2 separate regions of the Homo sapiens genome follow, and region 1 is linked to region 2. The links are contacts of gene promoters, found by promoter capture Hi-C in human tissues and cell types (Jung and others, 2019). All regions are on one chromosome and are shown on one strand. Each heading gives the region's core, a stretch centred on a gene start or on the middle of the fragment in contact. The rest is flanking DNA. Distances are from core to core; before and after follow the strand shown. Region 1 has its middle 99 kb from the start of LINC03123. Region 2 holds the start of SMIM15 (small integral membrane protein 15).

Evidence for each region. The method cuts DNA at HindIII sites, captures the fragments that hold promoters and counts their contacts. A contact is called where the count stands out against the background at its distance.
Region 1: a contact is called between a fragment that was not itself captured here and the fragment with the promoter of SMIM15 in region 2, in 1 of the 25 tissues and cell types used here (dorsolateral prefrontal cortex).

The regions. Positions count from the first base shown.
Region 1 is chr5:61,831,301-61,838,508 of GRCh38, reverse strand. It overlaps the pseudogene LOC643307. Among named protein-coding and RNA genes, the nearest start is that of LINC03123, 99 kb to the right of the region's middle. The HindIII fragment of the contact is 6,877 bases long and covers 1-6,689 here.
Region 2 is chr5:61,159,186-61,165,870 of GRCh38, reverse strand. SMIM15 (small integral membrane protein 15) reads left to right here and starts at 3,403. Exons shown (of 3, transcript NM_001048249.4): 1 at 3,403-3,654; 2 at 4,644-4,783; 3 at 5,672-6,685. The coding sequence starts at 5,700. The coding sequence ends at 5,924. It overlaps SMIM15-AS1 (SMIM15 antisense RNA 1), which reads right to left and starts at 3,555. Exons shown (of 4, transcript NR_109908.1): 1 at 3,345-3,555. RefSeq lists enhancers at 2,715-2,774, 2,815-2,914, 3,445-3,704, 3,775-3,854, 3,340-4,236 and a silencer at 3,155-3,264. The HindIII fragment of the contact is 13,088 bases long and covers 1-6,685 here.

The sequences.
Region 1 (7,208 bases), core at 2,002-4,501, 670 kb before region 2:
AATACTCAAAACAATTTAGAAAAAGAACAAAGTTACAGGTCTCACACTAGCTGATTTCAACACTTACTATAAAGCTATAGTAATCCAAACAGTAAATTATTGGTAAAAGGATGAGCATATAGATCAACGGAACAGACTAAAGATTTCAGAAGTAGACGCATAAACATGTGGCAACTGATTTTTAACAAAAGTAGAAGGACAGTTCAGGGTATTGGATGGGGCTGGATGTCCATATGAAAAAAAAATGACCCATACCTTACACCTTTTATGAAACTTAACATGTATCATAGACCCACCTCTATACAATTTGTTTTTTAAAAAAGAGAAAATTTTTGTGATCTTGTTATGCAAAAAGTTCTTAGATAAGAAACCAAAAGCACTATCTATAAAAAAAGAATAAATTTATAAACTTGGTTTTATAAAAGAGCTGAAAACTATTCAAATGTCCATAAACAAACTGTAGTCTATCCATACAATGGAATACTACCTACAACAATAATAAATAAACTATGAGTCATACAATACTGATGAATCACAAATGCATTTTGCTAAGTGAAAGAAAGACCCAATAATTACATATTGTATGATTACACTTATATGACATTCTGAACAAGGCAAAGCTATCTCATAAAGAACAGATCAGTAGTTGCTAGGAATTAGGAGTTGTGGGAGGGTTTGACTGCAAAGGAGCAGCAGGAGGGAATATTTTGGTGTTATGAAGCTGTTTTGTGTCGATTATTCTGAGTGATGTATCTACCACGTGACTCTGCATTTGTCAAAATCTGTAGAACTGTATACCATAAAGAGTGGATTTTACCATATATAAATTTAAAAATAAGTTTTAAAAATAAATACAGTAGGTTTTGCTATCTTTCCCAATAACACATTTCCTGGTACTTCTCTGACACACCTGACTTCCAAACCATGGATGTTTGTATTAGCCTGTGGGTCACCTCCCTTTCTCTCTTCTGATCCTTCTAGACTTGCACTGTGCAATACTATAGCCACTACCTATGTGGGGCTATAAAGCATTTTAAGTGTGGCTAGTCCAAAACGGAGATGTGCTGTATGTGTAAAATACATATCAGATTTTAAAGGCTTAGAACAAAAAAACGTAAACTGTTTTATTGACATATGCAAATTAATTGTGTTTGAAATAAATTTTTTAATATATTGGATTAAATACAATATAGCATTAAATTACTTTACCTGTTTCTTTTTACTTTTAAAATGTGACTTCTGAAAAATTTAAAATTACATTTGTGGCTCACATGTCGTTTCTACTGCACAGCACTGGTATAAAGTTCTGCAGTGTCTGGTATCTCTGCTTTTCCAAGTTTCTGACTCTCAGCTCTTTGGAACAGACTAAACTTGGGTTCTGGGATTCATTCCTGAACCTTGGATACTGCTTTCTCCATCACTCTCTGTTTTTCTGTACCCACTCCCACTTTCTCTTCCCTTCATCTCCTTGGGAATACAATAATATAATGGAATAATGATCTTGCCTACTGTATTAGTTTGTTCTCACACTGCTAATAAAGACATACCCAAGACTGGGTAATTTATAAAGGAAAGAGGCTTAATTGACTCACAGTTCCACGTGGCTGGGGAGGCCTCACAATCACAGTGGAAGGCGAATGAGGAGCCAGGTCACATCTTACATGGTGGCAGGGAAGAGTGGACTTGTGTAGGGGAACTCCCCTTTATAAAACCATAAGATCTCATGAGACTTATTCACTATCATGAGAACAGCATGGGAAAGACCTGCCCCCATGATTCAATTACTGGGAGGTAATTACCATGACACGCGGGAGTTGTGGGAGCTACAATTCAAGATGAGATTTGGGTGGGTACACAGGCAAACCATATCATCCGTGAACAGAGATGTTTTATTTAAACAGTACAAAGCTTTCCAAGTTTTGAATTCCCAAAATTGGTGTGATAACTCTCCAATTCCTACAAGACCTACCACTACCTGTGGAAACTTTACATGTTTACATTATTTATCTGGACCCTGAAGAAATTTGAGTTCATGAATCCTAGACTAGCCCACCTTTCTCATTTTAAAGATGAGATCATCAATGTCCAGGATGGGAAGTGACTTTCCCGAATTGGCTTGGTCAGAGGAACAGCCAGAACTATCTCCAAGTCCACTGCTCTTTCACATTCTTCACTATCACAAACAAACCTGCTCTCTCTTGATTTGTTTTCAAAATCCTGTGGGACTTGAGTACAACAGCAAATCATCAGCTAGCCTCTTCTGATGTGATTCACGAACTCTCTCAATCAAATGTGGCTGCAAATTGTGTCACAAGAACACCTTCCACCATCTCTCTCTTGAGCTACCTGCCACAGTTCATTTAGAACCTTGCTTCATTTCCCCCATATTAATTACGAAGATTGAAAAAAGTTATTTTTGTATATGTTGTTTGTATACAGACATATCTCAGTACACAATTGATCATCTGCCGTGGGATTTCTGTGCTACTATGGAATCCAAGCTCCTAGAAGTAGTTAAGTTTATGTCAAATTATACTTACTGGGTGTATTAGTCTGTTTTCACAATGCTGATAAAGACATACCCGAGACTGGGCAATTTACAAAAGAAAAAGGTTTAATTGGACTTACAGTTCCACGTGGCTGGGGAAGGTCTCACAATCATGGAGGAGGGTGAAAGGCACTTCTTACATGGTGGCAGCAAGAGAGAATGAGGAAGAAGCAAAAGCCGAAACCCCTGATAAACCGGTCAGATCTCATGAGACTTATTCACTATCATGAGAATAGCACAGGAAAGACTGGCCCCCATGATTTAATTACCTCCCCCTGGGTCCCTCCCACAGCACATGAGAATTCTGGGAGATACAATTAAAGATGAGATTTGGGTGAGGACACAGCCAAACCATATCATTCCTAGAAGTCAAGGGAGTCAAATTTATGTCAAATTATAATCACTGGGGAATGGTTGGATTATGAAAAATTTTGAGTTTCTTTTCTATTCTGGGATTTTTAACTTCTTTGAGTCTCCTCTGAGCACCCTCTCAGATTGTGGAAGTCTGAGTGCAGAACTTTGCACAGGGTGGGCCCCCGCCAAATACTAGTCCCCATGAGTTTGTACCTAACAGATTCTTTTCCATTGTCCACCTCTTCCTCCAAGTCTGTGTGGCCCTGCTTTGCTGTCAGATTCTAACTCAGTTCTCTGTGAAGAAAGGTAAATCAAAACACACCTTAAGACACTTTCCTCAGTTAGCTCTTGCGTCTGTCCAATTATCCCCTTTTGGGACCCCTTTGTGTCAGTCTCTGGCTAATCAGTGTTCACACCACGTCCTGATTTAGTATAAACTGTAATTTTCATGAACACAGGGAGGGATTCACTCCTTCTTCCAAATTAATGATGAAGGTGTTAAATAAGAGCATCCCCAACAGCCATTTCTGCAGCTCCCTACGACCAGAAACTTTGCAATTTATCAATAAACTTTCTTTGTGATCTTGTAGCTAATTTTGCAAATAAAATTTCCTGAGACATATCGTCTTTACCAACATAAGATATATTACATCTCTTGCATTTCCCCTTCATCTATTCATAACTCTGTCAAAAAAAGCTATTGTGCAGGAATGATTTGTTTCTTTGAAGCCTACATCACTTATTGTTCCTGATATCATCACTCTCCTGCTACTTAGAGATGTGTATATATATGAATATGATTGGAAATGATGTTTACAGGGCAATTATTGCCAGTATCTTCCTTTTCTTCTTCCTTACTTCCAAAATCAGGCTATGTTTCGTATTCACACCAGTCCATCCATCTGCTAATTTTCCTGATTCCATACCAAGTGCTCAGCCTGATTTCTGATGATTACTATATGAAGCTCATCAAATTCGAAGGGGCCCATCCTCTGGATCTTGAGCAACATCCTAAGTAATATAGGCCAATGTCGAGGAGTCCTTGCACTCTCACAGCATGAGGGAAACCCACTTCCCAGGCACCAAAAGGGAAGTGTAAGAACCCTAGGTTCTTCTATTAGTGGAAATATATTTTTTTCAGGGAGCTCCTGTGGAGCTCCTGTGGAGATACGGGGTTTTTAGAAAATTAAGAGAATTACAGAGATCAACTAGGAATAGAAGTCCTGCCTCATTTTCATGTGGCCTAAAATAAATTGGGAAATTTGTCCATCTTAATCTCCTGGATATTTTACTTGTTTTGGTGTCTTGTCTTTTAAAAAAAGAAAATGGACATTTATTGAAAGCCTGTCCTAAGCCAGTCCACACAACCCCTAATATGTATTTTATTATCCCCATTTTATGGATGACATTATAGAGATTATGGTTATGTGGTTATGCCTGAGGCCACAAAGGCAACAGGTAGAGCTGGGACTCTTATACAGTCTGTTTAACTTCAGAGACCTGTCATTTTCCACCACCCATGCTAATTTATGTTTTACAGAAAATCATTTTAGATAATCATTATAGATAAGTCTAAAATCATTTAGAAAATCATTATAGATAAGTCTCACACCTACTCTGACCCTAGTTTCCTCTCCTGTAAAATCAAGGGTTTGTAATAACTTCATTGCTAAGATTTCTGCTTGTTGTAACACTCTGAGAGCCTTGAAGGACTTGAATTCAGGGCAAAAGAAGACCTCATTGTCTTTCCTATAGGTAAATGCTAATTTTAAAAAATAGAAAAAATAATGAGAGAACAATATGAGCTAAGACATATTGGCCTAAGTAAATGAGTGTGGTTCATGCAGATTCAGAAAACTAAATGACTAGAAGTAATTTTGCAAATTTCCTTAGAGATACCAACTAGGCCATAAAAAATGGAAAATGCCTAGATTGAAAACTTTATGGCTTCCCAGCTGCTGACTCCAACTCAAGTTGCAGCTCTTCACCAGGTAATCCAAAAGAGACTTTTACAGGGTTTTTGAACTGAAAGCTCAGCCTTTTGGAGAACATGATTCTGTTTACTGATATTTCCAGAAATCCTCATCACTTAAGGAATTTGAACTACTAGTATGATCTTCTCTTTTGTTTTATGCTCCCTCTTCCTTTGTATATAGTAGATGAGATGGCTTTTCACATAATTTAGTACCTTTGATAGGGAGAAAAATGATCTAGAGTTATGAGAGGGGCCATTACTTACACAGTTGACTACATTCTTAATGTTCTTGTTTCCTTTCTTTCGTTCCTTCCTTCCTTCCTTCCTTCCTTCCTTCCTTCCTTCCTTCATTCATTCATTCCCTCCCTCCCTCCCTCCCTCCCTCTCTCCCTTCCTTCCTTCCTTCCTTCCTTCCTTCTTTTTTAGGGAAAAGAGGGGAAGGGTTTTGCTTTCAGCAGCTTCTGTTTTGCAATTTGTAGTTTCTACAAACAGTATTTTTAAAGACTCTAATAGGCTCAGTCACCAATGGACTGGCCCATGCTCCACGTTCTCTCCCAGCCGGGACACCTGGCTCCTTGGCCAAAGCAGTGAAAGAAGAGATCATGGGCTGGTCATTGACAATGGCTCCAGCATGTGCAAAGCTGGCTTTGCTGGACACAACGTCCCCCAACCCATGTTCCCCCTCCATCGTTGGGCACCCCTGACACCAGGGCATGATGATGGGCATGGGCCAGGACTCCTACATTGGTGACTAGGCCCAGAGCAAGCATGAAAGCCTGACCCTGAAGCACCACATTGAGCATGACATCATCACCAAATACAATGAAATGGAGAAGATCTAGTTCCACATCTTCTACAACAAGCTGCGCATCACCTCTGGGGAGCTCCTGGTTCTGCTGACCAAGGCCTCCCTGAACCACTAGGCCACTCGTGAAAAGATGACCCAGATCATGTTGGAGACTTTCAACATCCCAGCCATGCAGGTGGCTATCCAGGTTGTGCTTATTGCACGCCTCTGGCAGCACCACTGGCACCATGATGAACTCTGGTGATGGGGTCACCAACATGGTGCCCCTCTACCAGGGCTGTGCCCTCTTGCATGCCACCCTGCATCTGACCTGGCTAGCTGGGACCTGACTACCCTACAAATACCCTCACAGAGCAAGGCTACAGCTTCACCTCCATAGCCGAACAAGAAATCATGCACAACATCAAGGAGAAGCTGTGCTATCTCTCCCTGGACTTCCAGAGAAGATGGCCACCACAGCCTCCAGCTCCTCCCTGGAGAAGAACTAGGGGCTTCCACACAGCAGGTAATCACCACTGGCAATGAACAGTTCCAGTGTCTAGCCCTCCTTCCTGGGCGTGGAATCTTGTAGCATCCATGAGACCACATTCAACTACATCATGAAGTATAATGTGAACATCTGCAAGGACCTGTTTGCCAACACAGTGCTGTCTGGTGACACTATCATATACCTGGGCATCACTCACAGGATGCAGAAGGAGGTCACTGCCCTGGCGCCCAGCACCATGAGGATCAGGATCACCACTCCCCTTGAGGGCAAGTACTCGGAATGGATTGGTGGCTTTATCCTGGCCTCGCTGTCCTCCCTCCAGCTGACGCAGATCAGCAAGCAGTAGTGTGATGAGCTGGCCCCTCCATCATCCACTGCAAATGCTTCTAAATGGACTGTGAGCAGATGCATAGCATTTGCTGCATGAGTTAATTCAGAAGTATAAATTTGCCCCAGGCAAATGTATACACCACATGCTAACCTCACAAAATTGGAATAAGCTTTTGAAAAGAAATTGGTCCTTGAAGCTTGTATCTAATATTGGCACTGGATTATAGAATTTGTTGCTGATTTTGACCTTGTATTCAAGTTAATTGTTCCCTTGGTATTTGTTTAACACCCTGTACATATCTTTGATGTAAACCCTTAGTACATGTGGCTCAGTCACTTCATGGCTGAGGTGAAAACATGCTTTTGAAGGAGAAGTCTGTGGCTTGGTGAGTCCGCGTGACCAGCAGTCTCTCAATCTGTGCAGGTATTAATGTGTCAGAATGGAGTGCTTCAGGATTTCTCTAGAGGCTGACAAAACTTCTGAACCAGTTGTCCTTTCTGTCTTTCCGATCTATGAGGGTTGGAGAAATCCAAGCCTTAGGACCCAGTTTCCTTTCTTACCTGATGTTTTCCTGCCAGAACACGGTGGCTTGCCTTGAGTTAGAAGTGGTTTGCATTCGCCCCTGTAAGTGTATTCATCCTTTTAATTTATGAAAGTTTTTGTACACAATTCTGGATTCTTTAAGAAATGAAAACAAATTTT
Region 2 (6,685 bases), core at 2,154-4,653:
CTGAAGAGGCTGGTGGTGTGATATACTACACAGGAATTATCTTATGCAAAGGCAGGCCCTATTTCATTAACAGCATCAGGTTTAGTTAGTTTGGCTAAACTTACATGAATAATATTTTATTTCTTAAAAGTAAATAAAGCAGACCTTATTTCCTTGTTATTCTAAATTCGTATTCTGACAGACATTTGAGAGAATAAAAACCTGATTAAGGATCTTTTCAAACAAAGAAATAAGATCTTGTCCTGGAACAGTGGCTCACACCTGTAGTGCCAGCACTTTGAAAGACAAAGGCAGGAGGATCACTTCAGGCAAGGAGTTTGGGACCAGCCTGGGCAACAGAGTGAAACCCTGCCTCTAGAAAAAAATTTTTAAAAATTAGTTGGGCATAGTGGCATGCATCTGTAGTCCCAGCTACTCTAGAGGCTGAGGTGGGAGGATCGCTTGAGCCCAGGCAGTCAAGGCTGCAGTGAGCAGTGATGGACCCACTGCACCCCAGCGTGGGTGACTTAGTGAGACCCTGTCTCAAAAAAAAAAAAAAAAAAAATCACTGAAACTCATTCTCTCTAGTTGGGCTTGACTTAGAACTGAATACATTAAGCAGAAAATTAACACTGGTCATAGGTTTAAAAAATAATGAGTATGCTAAGCTGGGCATGGTGGCTTGTGGCTGTAGTCCCAGCTATTCAGAAGGTGAGGAGTGAGGATCCCTTGAGCCCAGGAGTTCGAAGAGGCAGTGGGCTATGATCGCACCACTGCATTCCAGCTGGGCCAGAGCAAGACCGTGTTTAAAAAAAAAAAAAAAAAAAAAGGCCAGGCGCGGTGGTGGCTCACGCCTGTAATCCCAGCACTTTGGGAGGCCGAGGCGGGTGGATCACGAGGTCAAGAAATCGAGACCATCCTGGCCAAATGGTGAAACCCCATCTATACTAAAAATACAAAAATTAGCTGGGCGTGGTGATGCCCGCCTGTAGTCCCAAGTACTCAGAAGGCTGAGGCAGGAGAATCGCTTGAACCTGGGAGGTGGAGGGTGCAGTGAGCCAAGATCGCAGCACTGCACTCCAGCCCTGGTGACAGAGACTCCGTCTCAAAATTAAAAAAAAAAAAAAAAAAAAAGACCTTAAGAAAACTTGCAATAATGTTTCTATCAAATACCTTACTATGCTATTTATTTAAGAAAAATGACCAAATCCAGTCCAATTTACAGATTTTAAAGCTGAAAGGGCATTGGAGATTGCCTAGTATGCTTTCCACATATCTAAGTGGAAACACACTCAGAGTGATTTATCAGAGTATACATAACATTACTGTACCACAACTGTGAATCTCAGTTCACGAGCTCAGACTTCTCTTTATGGAAAGTAGTTCACAGTATTTGAATCAATCCTGACACCACCTTTAGTTAAGGCAATGCAGACTGCAGTAAGGAGCTCCACTGTGGCAACCCCTATGCTGTTCCTGGTCTTGCAGACTGTCCTGTAACTTGAAGCTAGATGAGCAAACTTAGATTGTAAAGGCATGGTCTAGATCAGCAGTCTCCAACCTTAATGGCATCCAGGACTGGTTTCGTGGAAAACAATTTTTCCATGGACGGGGATGGGGGATGCTTTCAGGATGAAGCTGTTCCACCTCAGATCATCAGGCATTAGATTATCATAAGGAGCGCACAACCTAGATCCCTCGCACATGCAGTTCACATTACGGTTCGCACCATGAGAATCTAATGATGCTGCTGATCTGACAGGAGGCGGAACTTAGACGGAAATGCTCACTCACCCATCGCTCACCTCCTGCTGTGCGGCCCCGTTCCTAACAGGCTGCAAACCAGGTACCAGTCCGTCGTTGGGGACCCCTGGTCTAGATTACAGCTAAAGAACTACAAAGGCTTTCTCTTTATATGCCCTTCCTTCCTGCCCAAGACTTCTGGGCTTTTAACTAGGGATGCAGCACTGCAAGTATCCGGAGGCAGTAACTGGGAAAACCACCTATCATGATTAAAATAAAACACGCATTGGCCTCTGGAACGAAGGATGTTAAAATAATACATTCTGCCCACATCTTGGATTCAAGACTTGGGGAAGTTTTAGAAAAATCAGTTATCTCAAGTAAGTATTCAGTGCACACAATCCAGTGACTGAGTCTACTTTTTCTGGCTACTAAGGTACAGGCTAGGCCTAAGCAGCATAGGCTTTGAAACTATCATCCAGGTTTTCAAATAAAAAGGAGTAAGAAAACAACTGCTGGTAATACAACATTACAAACATTAACATATGCCCAACGAACAGTATCGTAGATCGTTAGATTATCTGCCAAAAGCCTGTTCCCTGGTAAATAACAGTTATTGTTGTTTTACCTAAACTAGTTAAACATGTCGCAGCTTGCTCCTGAAAGAGAACATTCTATAGTCTTTGGAGAATCAGTGAAGAGGTCTTGCAACATTTGTCAGAGGTAGTCAAACAGTGCAAGCAATCACAAAATTTGGTCACCAACCAAACCAGATTAGCTAATCTTTCAGTTCCTGTAGATTAGAAGACAATATTAACTCACCCTTTCTGCATGTTGACTTTTGCATCCCTTTATTTGTGTATTGAAAGAACAAGCACCTCTATGGGAACTCTATGCCCTGACAGTTTAATTACTTATCAAGTTTACTCTGGGCCGGTATTGATCATTCTTTCGTGAAACGAATTAGATACTTAAATTAAAAACAAACAACAAAACCCCCCTTTTCACATAGCATGGCGGCATGTCCCTTGGTAACAAGGTTGAGTGGATCCACCAAGGCCCAGTAGCTTGCCTCCTTTTCGTAAGGATGTAACTATTGTCCAACCAGAAGAGAGAGGCATGGAGTGGGATGTGCACCAGGATGAACTCGCCGGAATCGTCAAGAGTCGTTGTGTGACCCTCACCTTGACTTCGGGCGTTTTGTGGGGACCCAACTGCTTTCTTGCCGCTGCTCTTTGGTCTGAGTTTCCCTCAGCCAAACACTTCACCCACCCATGACCCTCCAACTGTCCCGCTACAGCAGGGGATGGGGGTTGTCTTCCGATCGACCTCGGGGGGCAAAGGCAAAAGTCCCTAGCTGCTTCGGAACCGCTCCTCGAGTCCTGAAGCCGCTCCACGCCTCCTCGCCCACCACTTGGTCCCCGCAGGACGTGGCAGTCTCGGGCTCCAGCCTGGAAAGGAGCCCGCCCGGGTGCCGTCACCCGCCCCGCGCGGCCTCACCTGCCGCTCCCCGGAAATCTCAGCGCTGCCCTGCCCCCGCCCCCACCCTCCCGCGTCCTCCAACTCGAGGTCCCAAGACCCACACAGCAATGGCGCAGCCGGAAACTGGGCCCTAGACTTACTCACGCCCGGCTGGCGGCTCGGGTCGCCTGTGGGCGGGACGCAAAGGCCGCGACTTCCGCCTTCCTGCTTCCGGTCTGGCGGTGAGTGGGGAGTGGGATCCGATCCCGTGGGGCTATGTAGGGGAAGTTGGTGGCTGCAGCTGCCGTGGTTTTCTCCTGGTGTCCAGCAGAAACGGCGGCGGCGCAAGGTGTGGCTGGGCCAACCCAGGATCTCCCAGGACCCTCCGCTCTGCGCGACAAGGGGCCCGCGCTTGCCAAGGCCGACGGGCAGGAGTGAACGTGGCCTCCGTGGGTCTGCAGCCCCGATAGGGTAAGGAGGGAAGAGTGAGCAAGGGAGAAACGTAAGGAATAAGGGAAAGACAAAGGAGGAAGTGCGGACGGCCGTCAAGTGCTACCCGTTGCAGCCGCAGGGGCCACGCGGGTCTGGTTGGGAGATCGAGCCTGGTCGATCCGTTTTGGGCGGAAGAGTAGGATTTATTCCTGAAAGTGTGGAGGCGCGAGCGTTTGGGTCCGAAGTTGAGTTGCAGGGAGATGTGTGGCCTGTGGACCATGGCTCTTTTACTGCAAAGTTCTTTTGCTTATTTCTGAAACTTACATTGTTTATTCGCTACTGGGCTGGAGAAGGTGAAGGCAGATCGATCTCAGTAGTACCTAATTCTAACTGTATGGGTGAGGTCGTATGAAGTCCAGGAGCTAAGATATTTAACGTATTAGGCACTTTCATGTGTGTTCAGTTGAAAATCGTGGGGAAGATATAATTAAAACTAGTCACAGTTTTCTTGGGGTAATGGGACTGTGGGTGAATTACTATAATTTGTTTGGTTATGTCTTCTAATTTTTTAAGTAAAGGACACAAATTGTATGATGGACCCAAAAAAACCTTTATAAAGAGTAAGATGAGCTGTTTGATTTTGTAGTGGTGTACCTAATCCAGTAAATAAATGAGTGGCAACATTTTTAGTATAAAAATTGAAAATCTAGGAACGGATACGCTGTGTAAGTCAGTCAGTGAGCCAACTTGTCTCCCGTATGTCAATGAACTAAAAAAATTTTATTATTGAAATAAGTAACTTAGTAAAATACTTGATTTCCAGTAATTAGGATTTTCTTACAGGGCATTTGCAATTGTAAATTCAAATGAGGAAGAAACGTATTAAGTTACTATACCGGATAGGCAATTTTAGATGTCATATAGGTTGCATATATACAATATAGAAATTTTCCATTTAAAATTTTATTACAATTATCCTGAAATTGTGACTTAAATTTTGTTTTATTTTTTGTATTCTTTCCAACTAGCCAATTGTACAGAATTTAAACCGTCTCTCAGATGTGTACAGTAGAACTCAAGAAGACAGACTACCAAGGGTCATCTGAAGTCGTGATTGGGTCACTAATAACACCAGGACAAAGTTAAGGGATCACTACTCAAGCATAAGGTAGATGATTTTTTTAAAAAAATTCCAGTTGAAATTGTAAGTGGATGTATATACACTCATTCCCTACCCAGGTATTCTAATTCTCCACTTTGAATAGCGGTTGACACAAACATGAAAGGGAGAAAAGCCTCTGGGGCAAAATAGAAAACGTCACTCAAGTCACATAATCCTCATTTGCCAGTTGCCTTTTCCTTACACTCAAAAAGGAACAAAACACATGGCATCTGTTAAGGCTACTTTCTCATTTATTAAATTAGGCTTATTCCAACAGAGGTCCTCAAAGCTGAAAGGGCATAAAATAGCACAGTACTTTTTGCTTCTTTGGCATATTAATGCGATGTCATGACTCCCTTACCCTCTCCTTCCCATTCGGGGAAATAGTCATCTCTCCTTCTCTGCGAGCATTTCACATGCTCTGTTGCTTGTCCTTTTCAAACACCAAATTTGCTGATTTGTATTTTTGTTAATTAGTAATACTAAGGATATGTCAAAAAATGACAAACTGTATTCAGCTGTTTCCTGGAATGACCACAGAAAACTCAAGATTTTTATAAAAGCCTCCTCCTAAATAAAGTTTGTCTTGAATATAGGAGGCATGTGAGAATGCATAGTCCTTATGACAGAGTCACATGGCTTTTTTAAATCTTCTATAACTTTACCTCTTTGAAGTGTCACTATTCTGGCTGTACTAGATGAATTACTTTTTCCTAACCAGAGATACTAGTCCTTATTACAATAGTACTAAGTTGTACTTTTTAAAAAAGCAAACTGAGTGATAATGGAATCCTGAGTTAACTGGTTGTGTGAGGAAACTTTTTCAAAATTTGATTAACCACATAGTCTTTTCTCCTGTTTTTTTCCTCTGTGTTCTCCACCCGCCTCCCCCAGCCCCAGTTTTCATAAGACTGCTGTGAAGATGTTTGATATAAAGGCTTGGGCTGAGTATGTTGTGGAATGGGCTGCAAAGGACCCCTATGGCTTCCTTACAACCGTTATTTTGGCCCTTACTCCACTGTTCCTAGCAAGTGCTGTACTGTCTTGGAAATTGGCCAAGATGATTGAGGCCAGGGAGAAGGAGCAAAAGAAGAAGCAAAAACGCCAAGAAAACATTGCAAAAGCTAAACGACTAAAAAAGGATTGAAGGACTGAACAGGCTTTGCAACCAGAGGAAAATCATTTGGAAAATTACACAGCTTTGGAAGAATCCACTAAAGTTTCTTCTTTGGATTTCTTGACAGTATGATTTAGTAAATGAAATTTGACCAAATGGAAGAATCATGTTAGTTCTGACCTCAATACTATAGTAACTTTTAGGCGTGGGTGTAGAAGTTTATAGGTTTCTATTGACAGTTATTGTAAATTAGCATTTACTGTGGTACAAATTCTTTATAACTGACTTAGTCATTTGCCGCTTAGCAGTTTATATACTGAAATGAAAACATCTTGTGGGGAAAAGTGACTTTAGATTATGAACTCAATTCAAATGAACTCTATTTAAAATGGGGTCCTATTTTGGACAAAGGAAATTAAGAATGTAAAAGTCAGAACAGTCTTGAGGTAAAAAGTGTGCTTTGGCTTAAAAGGGATACAGTATATTAATTACATCTTTTATTATTATTGTTTATTTCTTAGAATCATTTCTGGCTTTCTCAAAACAAAATAATATTAATGAGTACTTCTATTTGCTGCATTTTTCTTATTACAGCCTTTGAGACAGCTGGTAATTATAAGTCATTTTCCATTTTTTAAAACATAATTTTATAAAGAATTCTCTTATCTCGACTATGTAGAATACCACCTACTGGACAGAACAATTTTTGTACTCACAAACACTGCCATTTTCTTAGAGATGGCTTGAGAGGAGTAACACTATGGTTTAAAGCTTGCAGTAAAAATGCCAAA